Regions from separate parts of the Homo sapiens genome. Here all the other regions are linked to region 3. The links are contacts of gene promoters, found by promoter capture Hi-C in human tissues and cell types (Jung and others, 2019). All regions are on one chromosome and are shown on one strand. Each heading gives the region's core, a stretch centred on a gene start or on the middle of the fragment in contact. The rest is flanking DNA. Distances are from core to core; before and after follow the strand shown.

Region 1 (2,706 bases), core at 137-2,636, 160 kb after region 3:
ATTTTTTCTGAAGCCTCTGGGAGGCTTCAGGAATTCATTTATTTTCCTTTTTCTTAAACCCTCTAATGCTCTAGGCCCCAGGGCCTTGCAGGCATTGTGAGATCTGAGTTGGGGATCACACGGCAGTGCTTTCTGTTCTGTTCTCTCCCTCTCTAGGCATCATGGCCATCCTTTTCTCAGGCATCGTGATGTCCCACTACACGCACCATAACCTCTCCCCAGTCACCCAGATCCTCATGCAGCAGACCCTCCGCACCGTGGCCTTCTTATGTGGTGAGTTCTGCTTCTGTGTGGCCGTGAGCAGGCCCACCCAGAGCTGATCTTGCTTCCTTATCCTGTTTGAGAAGTCAGTTGAGACTTTCCCTGGCAGCAGGGCAGCAGCTCCTCAGAGCCAGATCCCTCACTCCCTTATCTTTTGTTTGTTCCTCTGGCTTTGAAATTTCATAAAGTAAACCAAACACCTAATAAATGAACATCTGGCGCCTACAATTTAAAGACCAAAAATAGTGAGAACCAATTATGAACATTTGATACATGCATTTTTAATGTATTAATGTGACATTTCCAAAAATGTATTCCTTGGAAATAAAATATTAATGATGGTTTGGTGAAAATGGCTCCATAGTCAAGCAAGGCATGGGGCTCACACCTGTAATCCCAGCTGCTTGGGAGACTGAGAGGATCACTTGAGCCCAGGAGTTCAAGGCTGCAGTGGGCTATGATCTTAAAAAAAAAAAAAAAAAGAAAGAAAGAAAAACAAAGCTTTTGTAGTCAAACAAGAGTTTAGGAAATCCTGGTTAAATAAAGTTTAACATTTATGAATTGCCAGACTTTTCAGCAAATAATGGATTGTCAAATCCTTAACGGGGGATATAGTTATAGAATTTTCCAAACTTGTCCACAGAATCCTTTATTCACAAGAGCAGCCTGAGGGACATCACTCGGGGACAGTTCGCAGTAGAGGTGTCATTTGTTGGGCTGGGATAAACCACGATGGCTTTGTCTTTAAGCAGTTTGTTCAAGTTCTTGTTCCCCCACGCTCCGACATACCCATGTATCTCCCCACCAACTTTATACTTGGAAGTGGTTGGAGTCGGGGAACAGCTCTCACCATGTCCCTTTAAGCTGGCCCCCAAGTGACTTTGCCCTAGCTGTCATCAAAATCACCCCTGGCATTTTGAGGGACTTGTCTCTTTTTTTTTTTGAGATGGAGTCTTGCTGTGTCGCCCAGGCTGGGGTGCAGTGGCGTGATCTCAGCTCACTGCAAGCTCCGCCTCCCGGGTTCATGCCATTCTCCTACCTCAGCCTCCGGAGTAGCTGGGACTATAGGTGCCCGCCACCATGCCTGACTAATTTTGTTTTTTGTATTTTTAGTAGAGACAGGGTTTCACCGTGTTAGCCAGGATGGTCTCGATCTCCTGACCTTGTGATCCACCTGCCTCGGCCTCCCAAAGTGCTGGGATTACAGGCATGAGCCACCGCACCCGGCCACTTGTCTCATTTTTAATTGCTACTTCCACACTGTTAGCGTGCTAGGAGGCAAAGGCAACCCAGGCAGAAACTTCAGCAGATAAGGAGGCTCAGGTGAGGAGTAGTCACATGACTTGCCCATGGTCTCATGGCCAAGAAGTGGGTATGCAGGCCAGGTCTCTTTATTCCTGGGCCAGAGGGTATTATTTGTACAGCACCTCTCTCAGAAAGCCAGGCTACAGATTCTGACCCTGAGCCTCCCAGTTAAAGACACATAAAGCAAATCGTCCATCCAAAAAGATTCTATTTTGTACCCAGCAGTTTGGCAAATGTTAAGTTTGATAATACCCACTTCTGGCCTTGGCGTGTGGAAAACAGGCCTACTGGAATCTTTTCTGGAGAGTCATTTGCCACGTCTGTCTGAATTTAAAAGGCACGTGCTCTTTGGCCCAACAGTCCAACCCTGTGGAATTTAGCCCATACTGGGGTGTTTGTTGAACCTCTCAGAAATAAAAACAGTCTAAATATCCATCCATAGAGGATTGGGCATTAGAAAAATTGTCGAATTTTGACAATTTGTCAAATGTGACAGAAAAACTGTCAAATTTCTCTGCAAATAAACATTATCCCGCCAAGGGAAGATGATAAACACAATTCTGCCTGTTTACTGAACACCTTCATTAGCAAGGGTCCCAACTGTGGCAAAGTGGCAGAAATTCAGAGCAAATGGATACCGTGATGTATCCAGATCCTGGAGTTGATGCTGCCAGGGAAAAGCATCCACTAGATCTGAATGTCTTCTAAATGTGCTCATTTGGAAAGATCACACAAATATTAGATAAGAAAAAAATTTCAGAGAGAGAAGGGGGGGTAAATTCTCCAGCTTGTGGACTTGTTTTAAACTTGGGTACCATTCAAAGGAAAAACATTGTTAGAATGTAAAACAGCCTTGCTGTTTGTGATCAACTATTTTAAAATACAGTTTTAGGCCAGGCGCGGTGGCTTATGCTTGTAATCCCAGCACTTTGAGGGGGGCCAAGGTGTGCGGATCACAAGGTCAGGAGTTTGAGACCAGCCTGGCCAACACAGTGAAACCCTGTCTCTACTGAAAAAAAAAAAAAAAAAAATAGCTGGGCGTGGTGGCGAGCGCCTGTAATCCCAGCTGCTTGGGAGGCTGAGGCAGGAGAATTGCTTGAACCCAGGAGGCGGAGGTTGCAGTGAGCCGAGATCGTGCCA
Region 2 (2,700 bases), core at 142-2,641, 200 kb after region 3:
CCGTGGGTGCAGGCCTGTGACCATCTTGCTCAGTAAGGTGACCTGTGTGCTTCATGTCTGCTGAGTGTGGGAGACAGCAAGGGGCTGAGAGAAGCTGCAGCAGGACTGGGCCTGGCATGTGGGGGACTCCTTTAGCAGACCTGTGTTCAGCTAGGAAGGTCCTACGAGCCCAGCAACTATCAGGAGGTCAACAAAATCATCCTCATCTCAAAGAGCCAGTAGTCTGGCTCCTCCACAGATTTTGTCCCCAGGAGGAGACTCCTGGGAGTACTAATGGTGCGGTGAGAGGTGGGATGTGTAGCAAAACTAGGGACACAGAGAGGCCACTGTCTCCAACACACTGCACTGCTGAGGGAGCCCAGTGCTACAGTGACAAATAAGGCTGAGGAGTACAGGAGGCAAACACATCCATTTAGGGGCCAGGTGCGGGGGCTCACGCCTGTAATCCCTAAACTTTGGAAGGCCAAGGCAGGAGGATTGCTCAAGGCCAGGAGTTCGAGACCAGCCTGGGCAACATAGCAATACCCTGTCTTTACAAAAGAAAACAAAATCCACTTGGGATAAAATTCTGCTTCAGGAAGATTCTCATCATTCAGGCCTCAGCTCAAACATCAGCCTCTAGAGGTACCACCCTATCTCACCTTCCCAGTTCCACACTGTCACATTCTCCTACGATAACCACAATCTGAAACTATCAACTTCATTCATTCATTAGCTTCCTCTCTTTGTCCACCCCTCACCCTCCCTGGTAAGCTGGTAAGCTCGTGGTAAGCTCCATAAAGGCAAGGACCATGTCTGTGTTGTTCACCACGATGCCTAACACAGAGCCTGCCTGTGCTTGATAAAGTAGGTGAAATGGATGCTGCAGCCAGGCACGGTGGCTCACGCCTGTAATCTTAGCACTTTGGGAGGCCGAGGCAGGTGGATTGCCTGAGCTCAGGAGTTCGAGACCAGCCTGGGCAACACGGTGAAACCCCGTCTCTACCAAAATTTAAAAAAAAATTAGACGGGTGTGGCAGCATGCGCCTGTAATCACAGCTACTCGGGAGGCTGAGGCAGGAGAATTGCTAGAACCCAGGAGGCGGAGGCTGCAGTGAGCCGAGATCGCCCCATTGCACTCCAGCCTGGGCAACAGAGCGAGACTCCGTCTCTAAAAAAAAAAAAAGAAAAAGAAAAAGAAAAGAGAAAAAGAGAAATGGATGCTGCAAAGGATGTCTGCATTCACGATGCCATCACTTTAGTTTCTCATTGGTACCTCCCAAGAATCCTGGGAGATCAGCTGGAGAGCAAAGAAACGGGCTCAGAAAGATGGCATGAGGTACGACAAGTAGCTCAAGGTTAGCAGATGATGGACCCGATAATCCAAGCCTGGCCTTCTGACTTGGAACCTGTATTCCTCTCACCACCCCACGATTCCCATGTCCAGCAAGCATTTCTGCAGCCCCCACCCTCTGCCTGAGCTGGACCCAGTCGGGGAATGGGGATGGGTGGGACAGGTAGAGGACAGCAATAAAGGAGACACATCCTGCCTGCAGCTCTAGCTGGAAGAGCATACCACCTAGTATCAAAGTAGGTATGTGCTCTAACTTCATACTGTTCTGTCCATAAAAAAATAAACAATTTAAAATGTATATTCTCTTAAAAAATAAAAATGCAGGCCAGGCGCGGTGGCTCACGCCTGTAATCCTACAACTCTGGGAGGCCAAGGTGGGTGGATCGCCTGAGATTGGGAGTTTGAGACTAGCCTGGCCAACATAGCGAAACCCCGCCTCTACTAAAAATACAAAAATTAGCTGGACGAACACCTGTAATCCCAGCTACTCAGGAGGCTGAGGCAGGAGAATGGCGTGAACCCAGGAGGGAGAGGTTGCAGTGAGCTGAGATCGTGCCATTGCACTCCAGCCTGGGCAACAGAGCAAAAACTCCATCTCTACATAAATAAATGTATTGCACCACTGGAGAGGATAGTCACACATGCATTTACCATTCTTGACTTATCTAAGAGAAGCTGCCATCACGCCTCTGGCCCCAGGGTCTGTTTTTTGGTAGTCTGAGAACCATTCAAACACAGAGACATTAAGCTTCCGAATACTGCTGTAATTTTTCTCCAAGGAAGTCAGCCTTGAACTCAAAGAGACTGATTTTTTACAAAGTCAGCCAGTCTCAAGCTCGGCTCAGCGTCTGCTGCTCTATAATCGCACCACAGTCCACACCCTTGTTTGTTGCTGAAAAACAATAAATAAAGGAAAGGGATCCAAACAGCCCAGCTGATGTTCAAAATACTCACAATAAGGACAGGAAGCCTATCTAAAACAAATCTCAAACCAACCTGGGTAGGTGAGGGAAAAGGCGGAAGAAAGTAAAAGCTAAAAGATAATTAAGGGCAAGACAAGCCTGGACAACATAGTTAGACTCCGTCTCTACAAAAAAAAAAAAAAAAAAAATTAGGTGGGTGTGGTGACACCCACCTGTAGTCTTAGCTACTTGGGAGTCTGAGGTGGGGGGATCCACTGAGCCCAGGAGTTTGAGGCTGCAGTGAGCTATGATGGCACCACTGCACTCCGGCCTGGGTGACAGAGCAAGACCTTGTCTCAATCAGTCAATAAGGAAAGGAAAGAAAGAGACTAACAATTACTGAGGTTCTACTATGTGCTAAGCATTGGGCTTCCCACTTTACCTACATCATCCCATTTAATCCTC
Region 3 (2,732 bases), core at 35-2,534:
AGGCCCCAATCATATCCCCTTCTCTACGGACAATTTAAACTTCTCCTTTGTCCGCAGAGCAGGCACTATCCAATACTGAAGAACCACACCATCTACCCTCAAGGCTAGGAGAGGGCAGAAGTGGAAGAAAGAACACAGACAGCACCCCTTCCCCAGGTCTTCAGTTGAGAAAGAAGCTGTGGCTGAAAGTCTGGGGGGCTGGGGGCAAAGGTGACAAGGATGTGCCCTTGTGGGTACGCGAGGTGGGGGGGGGGGAGATGGGGAAGAGGCATGGGACGCTCAGGGGATTAGCAGGAGATTGAATGGGGGTGGACCTCTGTAAGGGGAAGGGGGGTGCCACCGGCAGGCAGAGAGATCAGGCCACTGAAGAGGTGAACGTGAGTTAGGGAGGAGGACCTGGAGGTGGATGTAATAGGGGAAGTAGAGGAAGAAAGGGGAGGGAGGGGGCTCACGGGAGCAGGAAACGATGGAGTCATGGGGAGTGGGGGAGGATGGATGGGAGCTAGAAGGTGGGGCGGCCTGGGACCCGGGCACATGGGCTCGGCGAAGAGCGGGCGCGCCGCGGGGGACTGGGGTGCGGGGAATGCCGGGAATGGGGGTTCGAGGAGACCCCGGGGAAGGGAAGGGGAAGCGGGAGTTCTCGAGCAGAGGAGCGGGAAGTGGGAGTTCCAGCGAGGCAAGAGCGGGAAGGGGGTTCCGGAGCAAGGGGCGGGCGTGAAGGTACAGTCGGGTTCGCGAGGGTGGCGTTAGGAGGGGCGGGGTGGGCCGGAGGCTGGCGCGGGAGAGGGATCCCGGGCGCCTGTTGGGGTGCGGAGGGCAGGAATGTCCTGGCGTCCCCGAGAGCCGGGCCAGGACTCCGGAGTCTTCGGAGGACCAGGCTCAGGGCCGCCTCCCGGCCGGGGCCCCTTAGGGAGGGGCGGGGATTCCCCGGGTCCCTCAAGGCCAGAGCGGCAGCCGCCGCGGTCCCAAGCCCCCTTCCTACCTATGCCGGGCGCCACATAGACGAAGTACAGCAGCGAGGACGAGAGAGAAAAGAAGAAGAGCGCGGCGAGCAGCGAGCGGCGCGGCAGCCGCAGCAGCCCCCGGCGGGCGCGCATGCTGCAGCCAGGCGGCCGCTAGAGAGCCAGGCCGGGCCTGCTCCCGCAGCTCCCCGTCCGCCGCCTCCTGGGCCGCCGCCGCCACCGCCTGGGCCTCGGCCACCGCCTCCCGGGCCTCGCGGGCCGCCACTCGCCGCCGCCGCCGCCTCGCCGCTCCCAGCCGCCGGCCGTCGCGGGCCGGGCCACATGAAGCGGGCGGGGGCCAGAGCGGCCCCGAGCGGGCGCAGCGGCGGGGGCGGAGGCGGGGCGCACGCGCGGGAGGCGGGGCCAGTGCCGCCGGGCACCGTCGCAAAAGACCCGCGCGCTTGCGCTCGCCGCCGACCCTCGCTCGGCGCCCACAGCAGCCCGCATGGAGTAATCGCCAAATGGCGACAGACCCTCTCCCAGTGCGGCCACCGCCCAGGCTTTCGGGGAATGTCTCCCAAGTGCTCCGCGCTAGCTCGTCCCCCATCTCGGGGGCCAAGGGGCCATCTACAAAGTCTGACTCATCTCGTTGCCCACTGCAGCAGAAGAGTGGGGACTGCAAGGCTTGGGGGTTCGGCCTGGTATACACCCTCATTCATTCATTCATTCATTCATTCAATTCACCATTTATTTATTGAATGCCAGACACAGTTGTTGGCGCTGGGCATGCTACAGAGAAAAAAAACGATAAAAATCTCTGTCTACTTGAAACTTACATTATGTGAGAGATAAAAGAAACAAATCAGCTAGTAATATCAGGTACTGGTAACACATATGAATACGATAAAACAGGAGGATGTATTGCAGGCAGGCTGGAGTGGTCAAGGAAGGCCTCACTGAGCAGTGACACGAACTGAGATATAAAAGGGTGAGAAAGCGCCAGCTTTTTTGAATAAGCTGGGGAAAAAGCAGTCATACCAGGGGGAACAGCAGGTGTAAAGGCCCTGAGGTAGGAAAAGGGCTGATCTGCCCCCGAGTTGAATCCAAGGCCAACATGGATAAAATCCAGTGAAGTAGGGGGGGAAATAGGGATGAGCTTGGAGCTGTAGTCAGGGATCCTACTGTATCAGAAATAGCATAATGATAACAATTGTCAATGTCTCTAGACTTCTGCTGAGAAACATGGACTTCACTCATGCCATGAAATTCCCCCACCAGTCTTGAGATGTGTGCTGTTATTATTACTATCATACAAATGAGGAAACTGAGGTTTCTAGATGGAAAGGCAATTCACCCAAGCCTTGCAGTAAGGGCTTAAATCAAAACTGGCCTGTCTCCCATGTCAGGCCCTTGACCTCTAGGTTGTAACTGTCTCAGCAGTCTGTATGACCTCTAATTCTTATCCTGCAGGCAAATCGGTATCCTATCCCCATCACCTGGGTATGGGACCATATCCAAAAAAATGCTTTCAGATCAGCATCAGCTCAAAGGACCTCAGAAGGCAATGAACAGTCCTAGAAATTTATGGCAAGAAGCAGTAGCCTCAAGGAGCTGGACTGAGGAGGCCAGTGTCCCTGTGTAGACATATCTGAAACTAGGGTACTGTCTTGGAATGCCAGAAGCAGTGGGGAGGGGAGAGGACTTTGCAGGGATTCTGTGAGAATCAACAATAATTCTGATTTATATTCCTAAAGTGATTTCTACTTTTTACAGTGTTTCTTTGATCCTTTA

Evidence for each region. The method cuts DNA at HindIII sites, captures the fragments that hold promoters and counts their contacts. A contact is called where the count stands out against the background at its distance.
Region 1: a contact is called between a fragment that was not itself captured here and the fragment with the promoter of B4GALT5 in region 3, in 2 of the 25 tissues and cell types used here (dorsolateral prefrontal cortex and mesendoderm cells).
Region 2: a contact is called between a fragment that was not itself captured here and the fragment with the promoter of B4GALT5 in region 3, in 1 of the 25 tissues and cell types used here (spleen).

Annotation. Positions count from the first base shown.
Region 1 is chr20:49,874,549-49,877,254 of GRCh38, forward strand. It overlaps SLC9A8 (solute carrier family 9 member A8), which reads left to right. Exons shown (of 16, transcript NM_015266.3): 11 at 157-273. Among named protein-coding and RNA genes, the nearest start is that of MIR12122, 12 kb to the left of the region's middle. The HindIII fragment of the contact is 4,147 bases long and covers 1-2,706 here.
Region 2 is chr20:49,910,516-49,913,215 of GRCh38, forward strand. The region is part of intron 1 of SPATA2 (spermatogenesis associated 2); the gene reads right to left. Among named protein-coding and RNA genes, the nearest start is that of SPATA2, 3.7 kb to the right of the region's middle. The HindIII fragment of the contact is 3,455 bases long and covers 1-2,700 here.
Region 3 is chr20:49,712,594-49,715,325 of GRCh38, forward strand. It overlaps B4GALT5 (beta-1,4-galactosyltransferase 5), which reads right to left and starts at 1,285. Exons shown (of 9, transcript NM_004776.4): 1 at 983-1,285. The coding sequence starts at 1,097. RefSeq lists silencers at 758-877, 1,168-1,497. The HindIII fragment of the contact is 30,885 bases long and covers 1-2,732 here.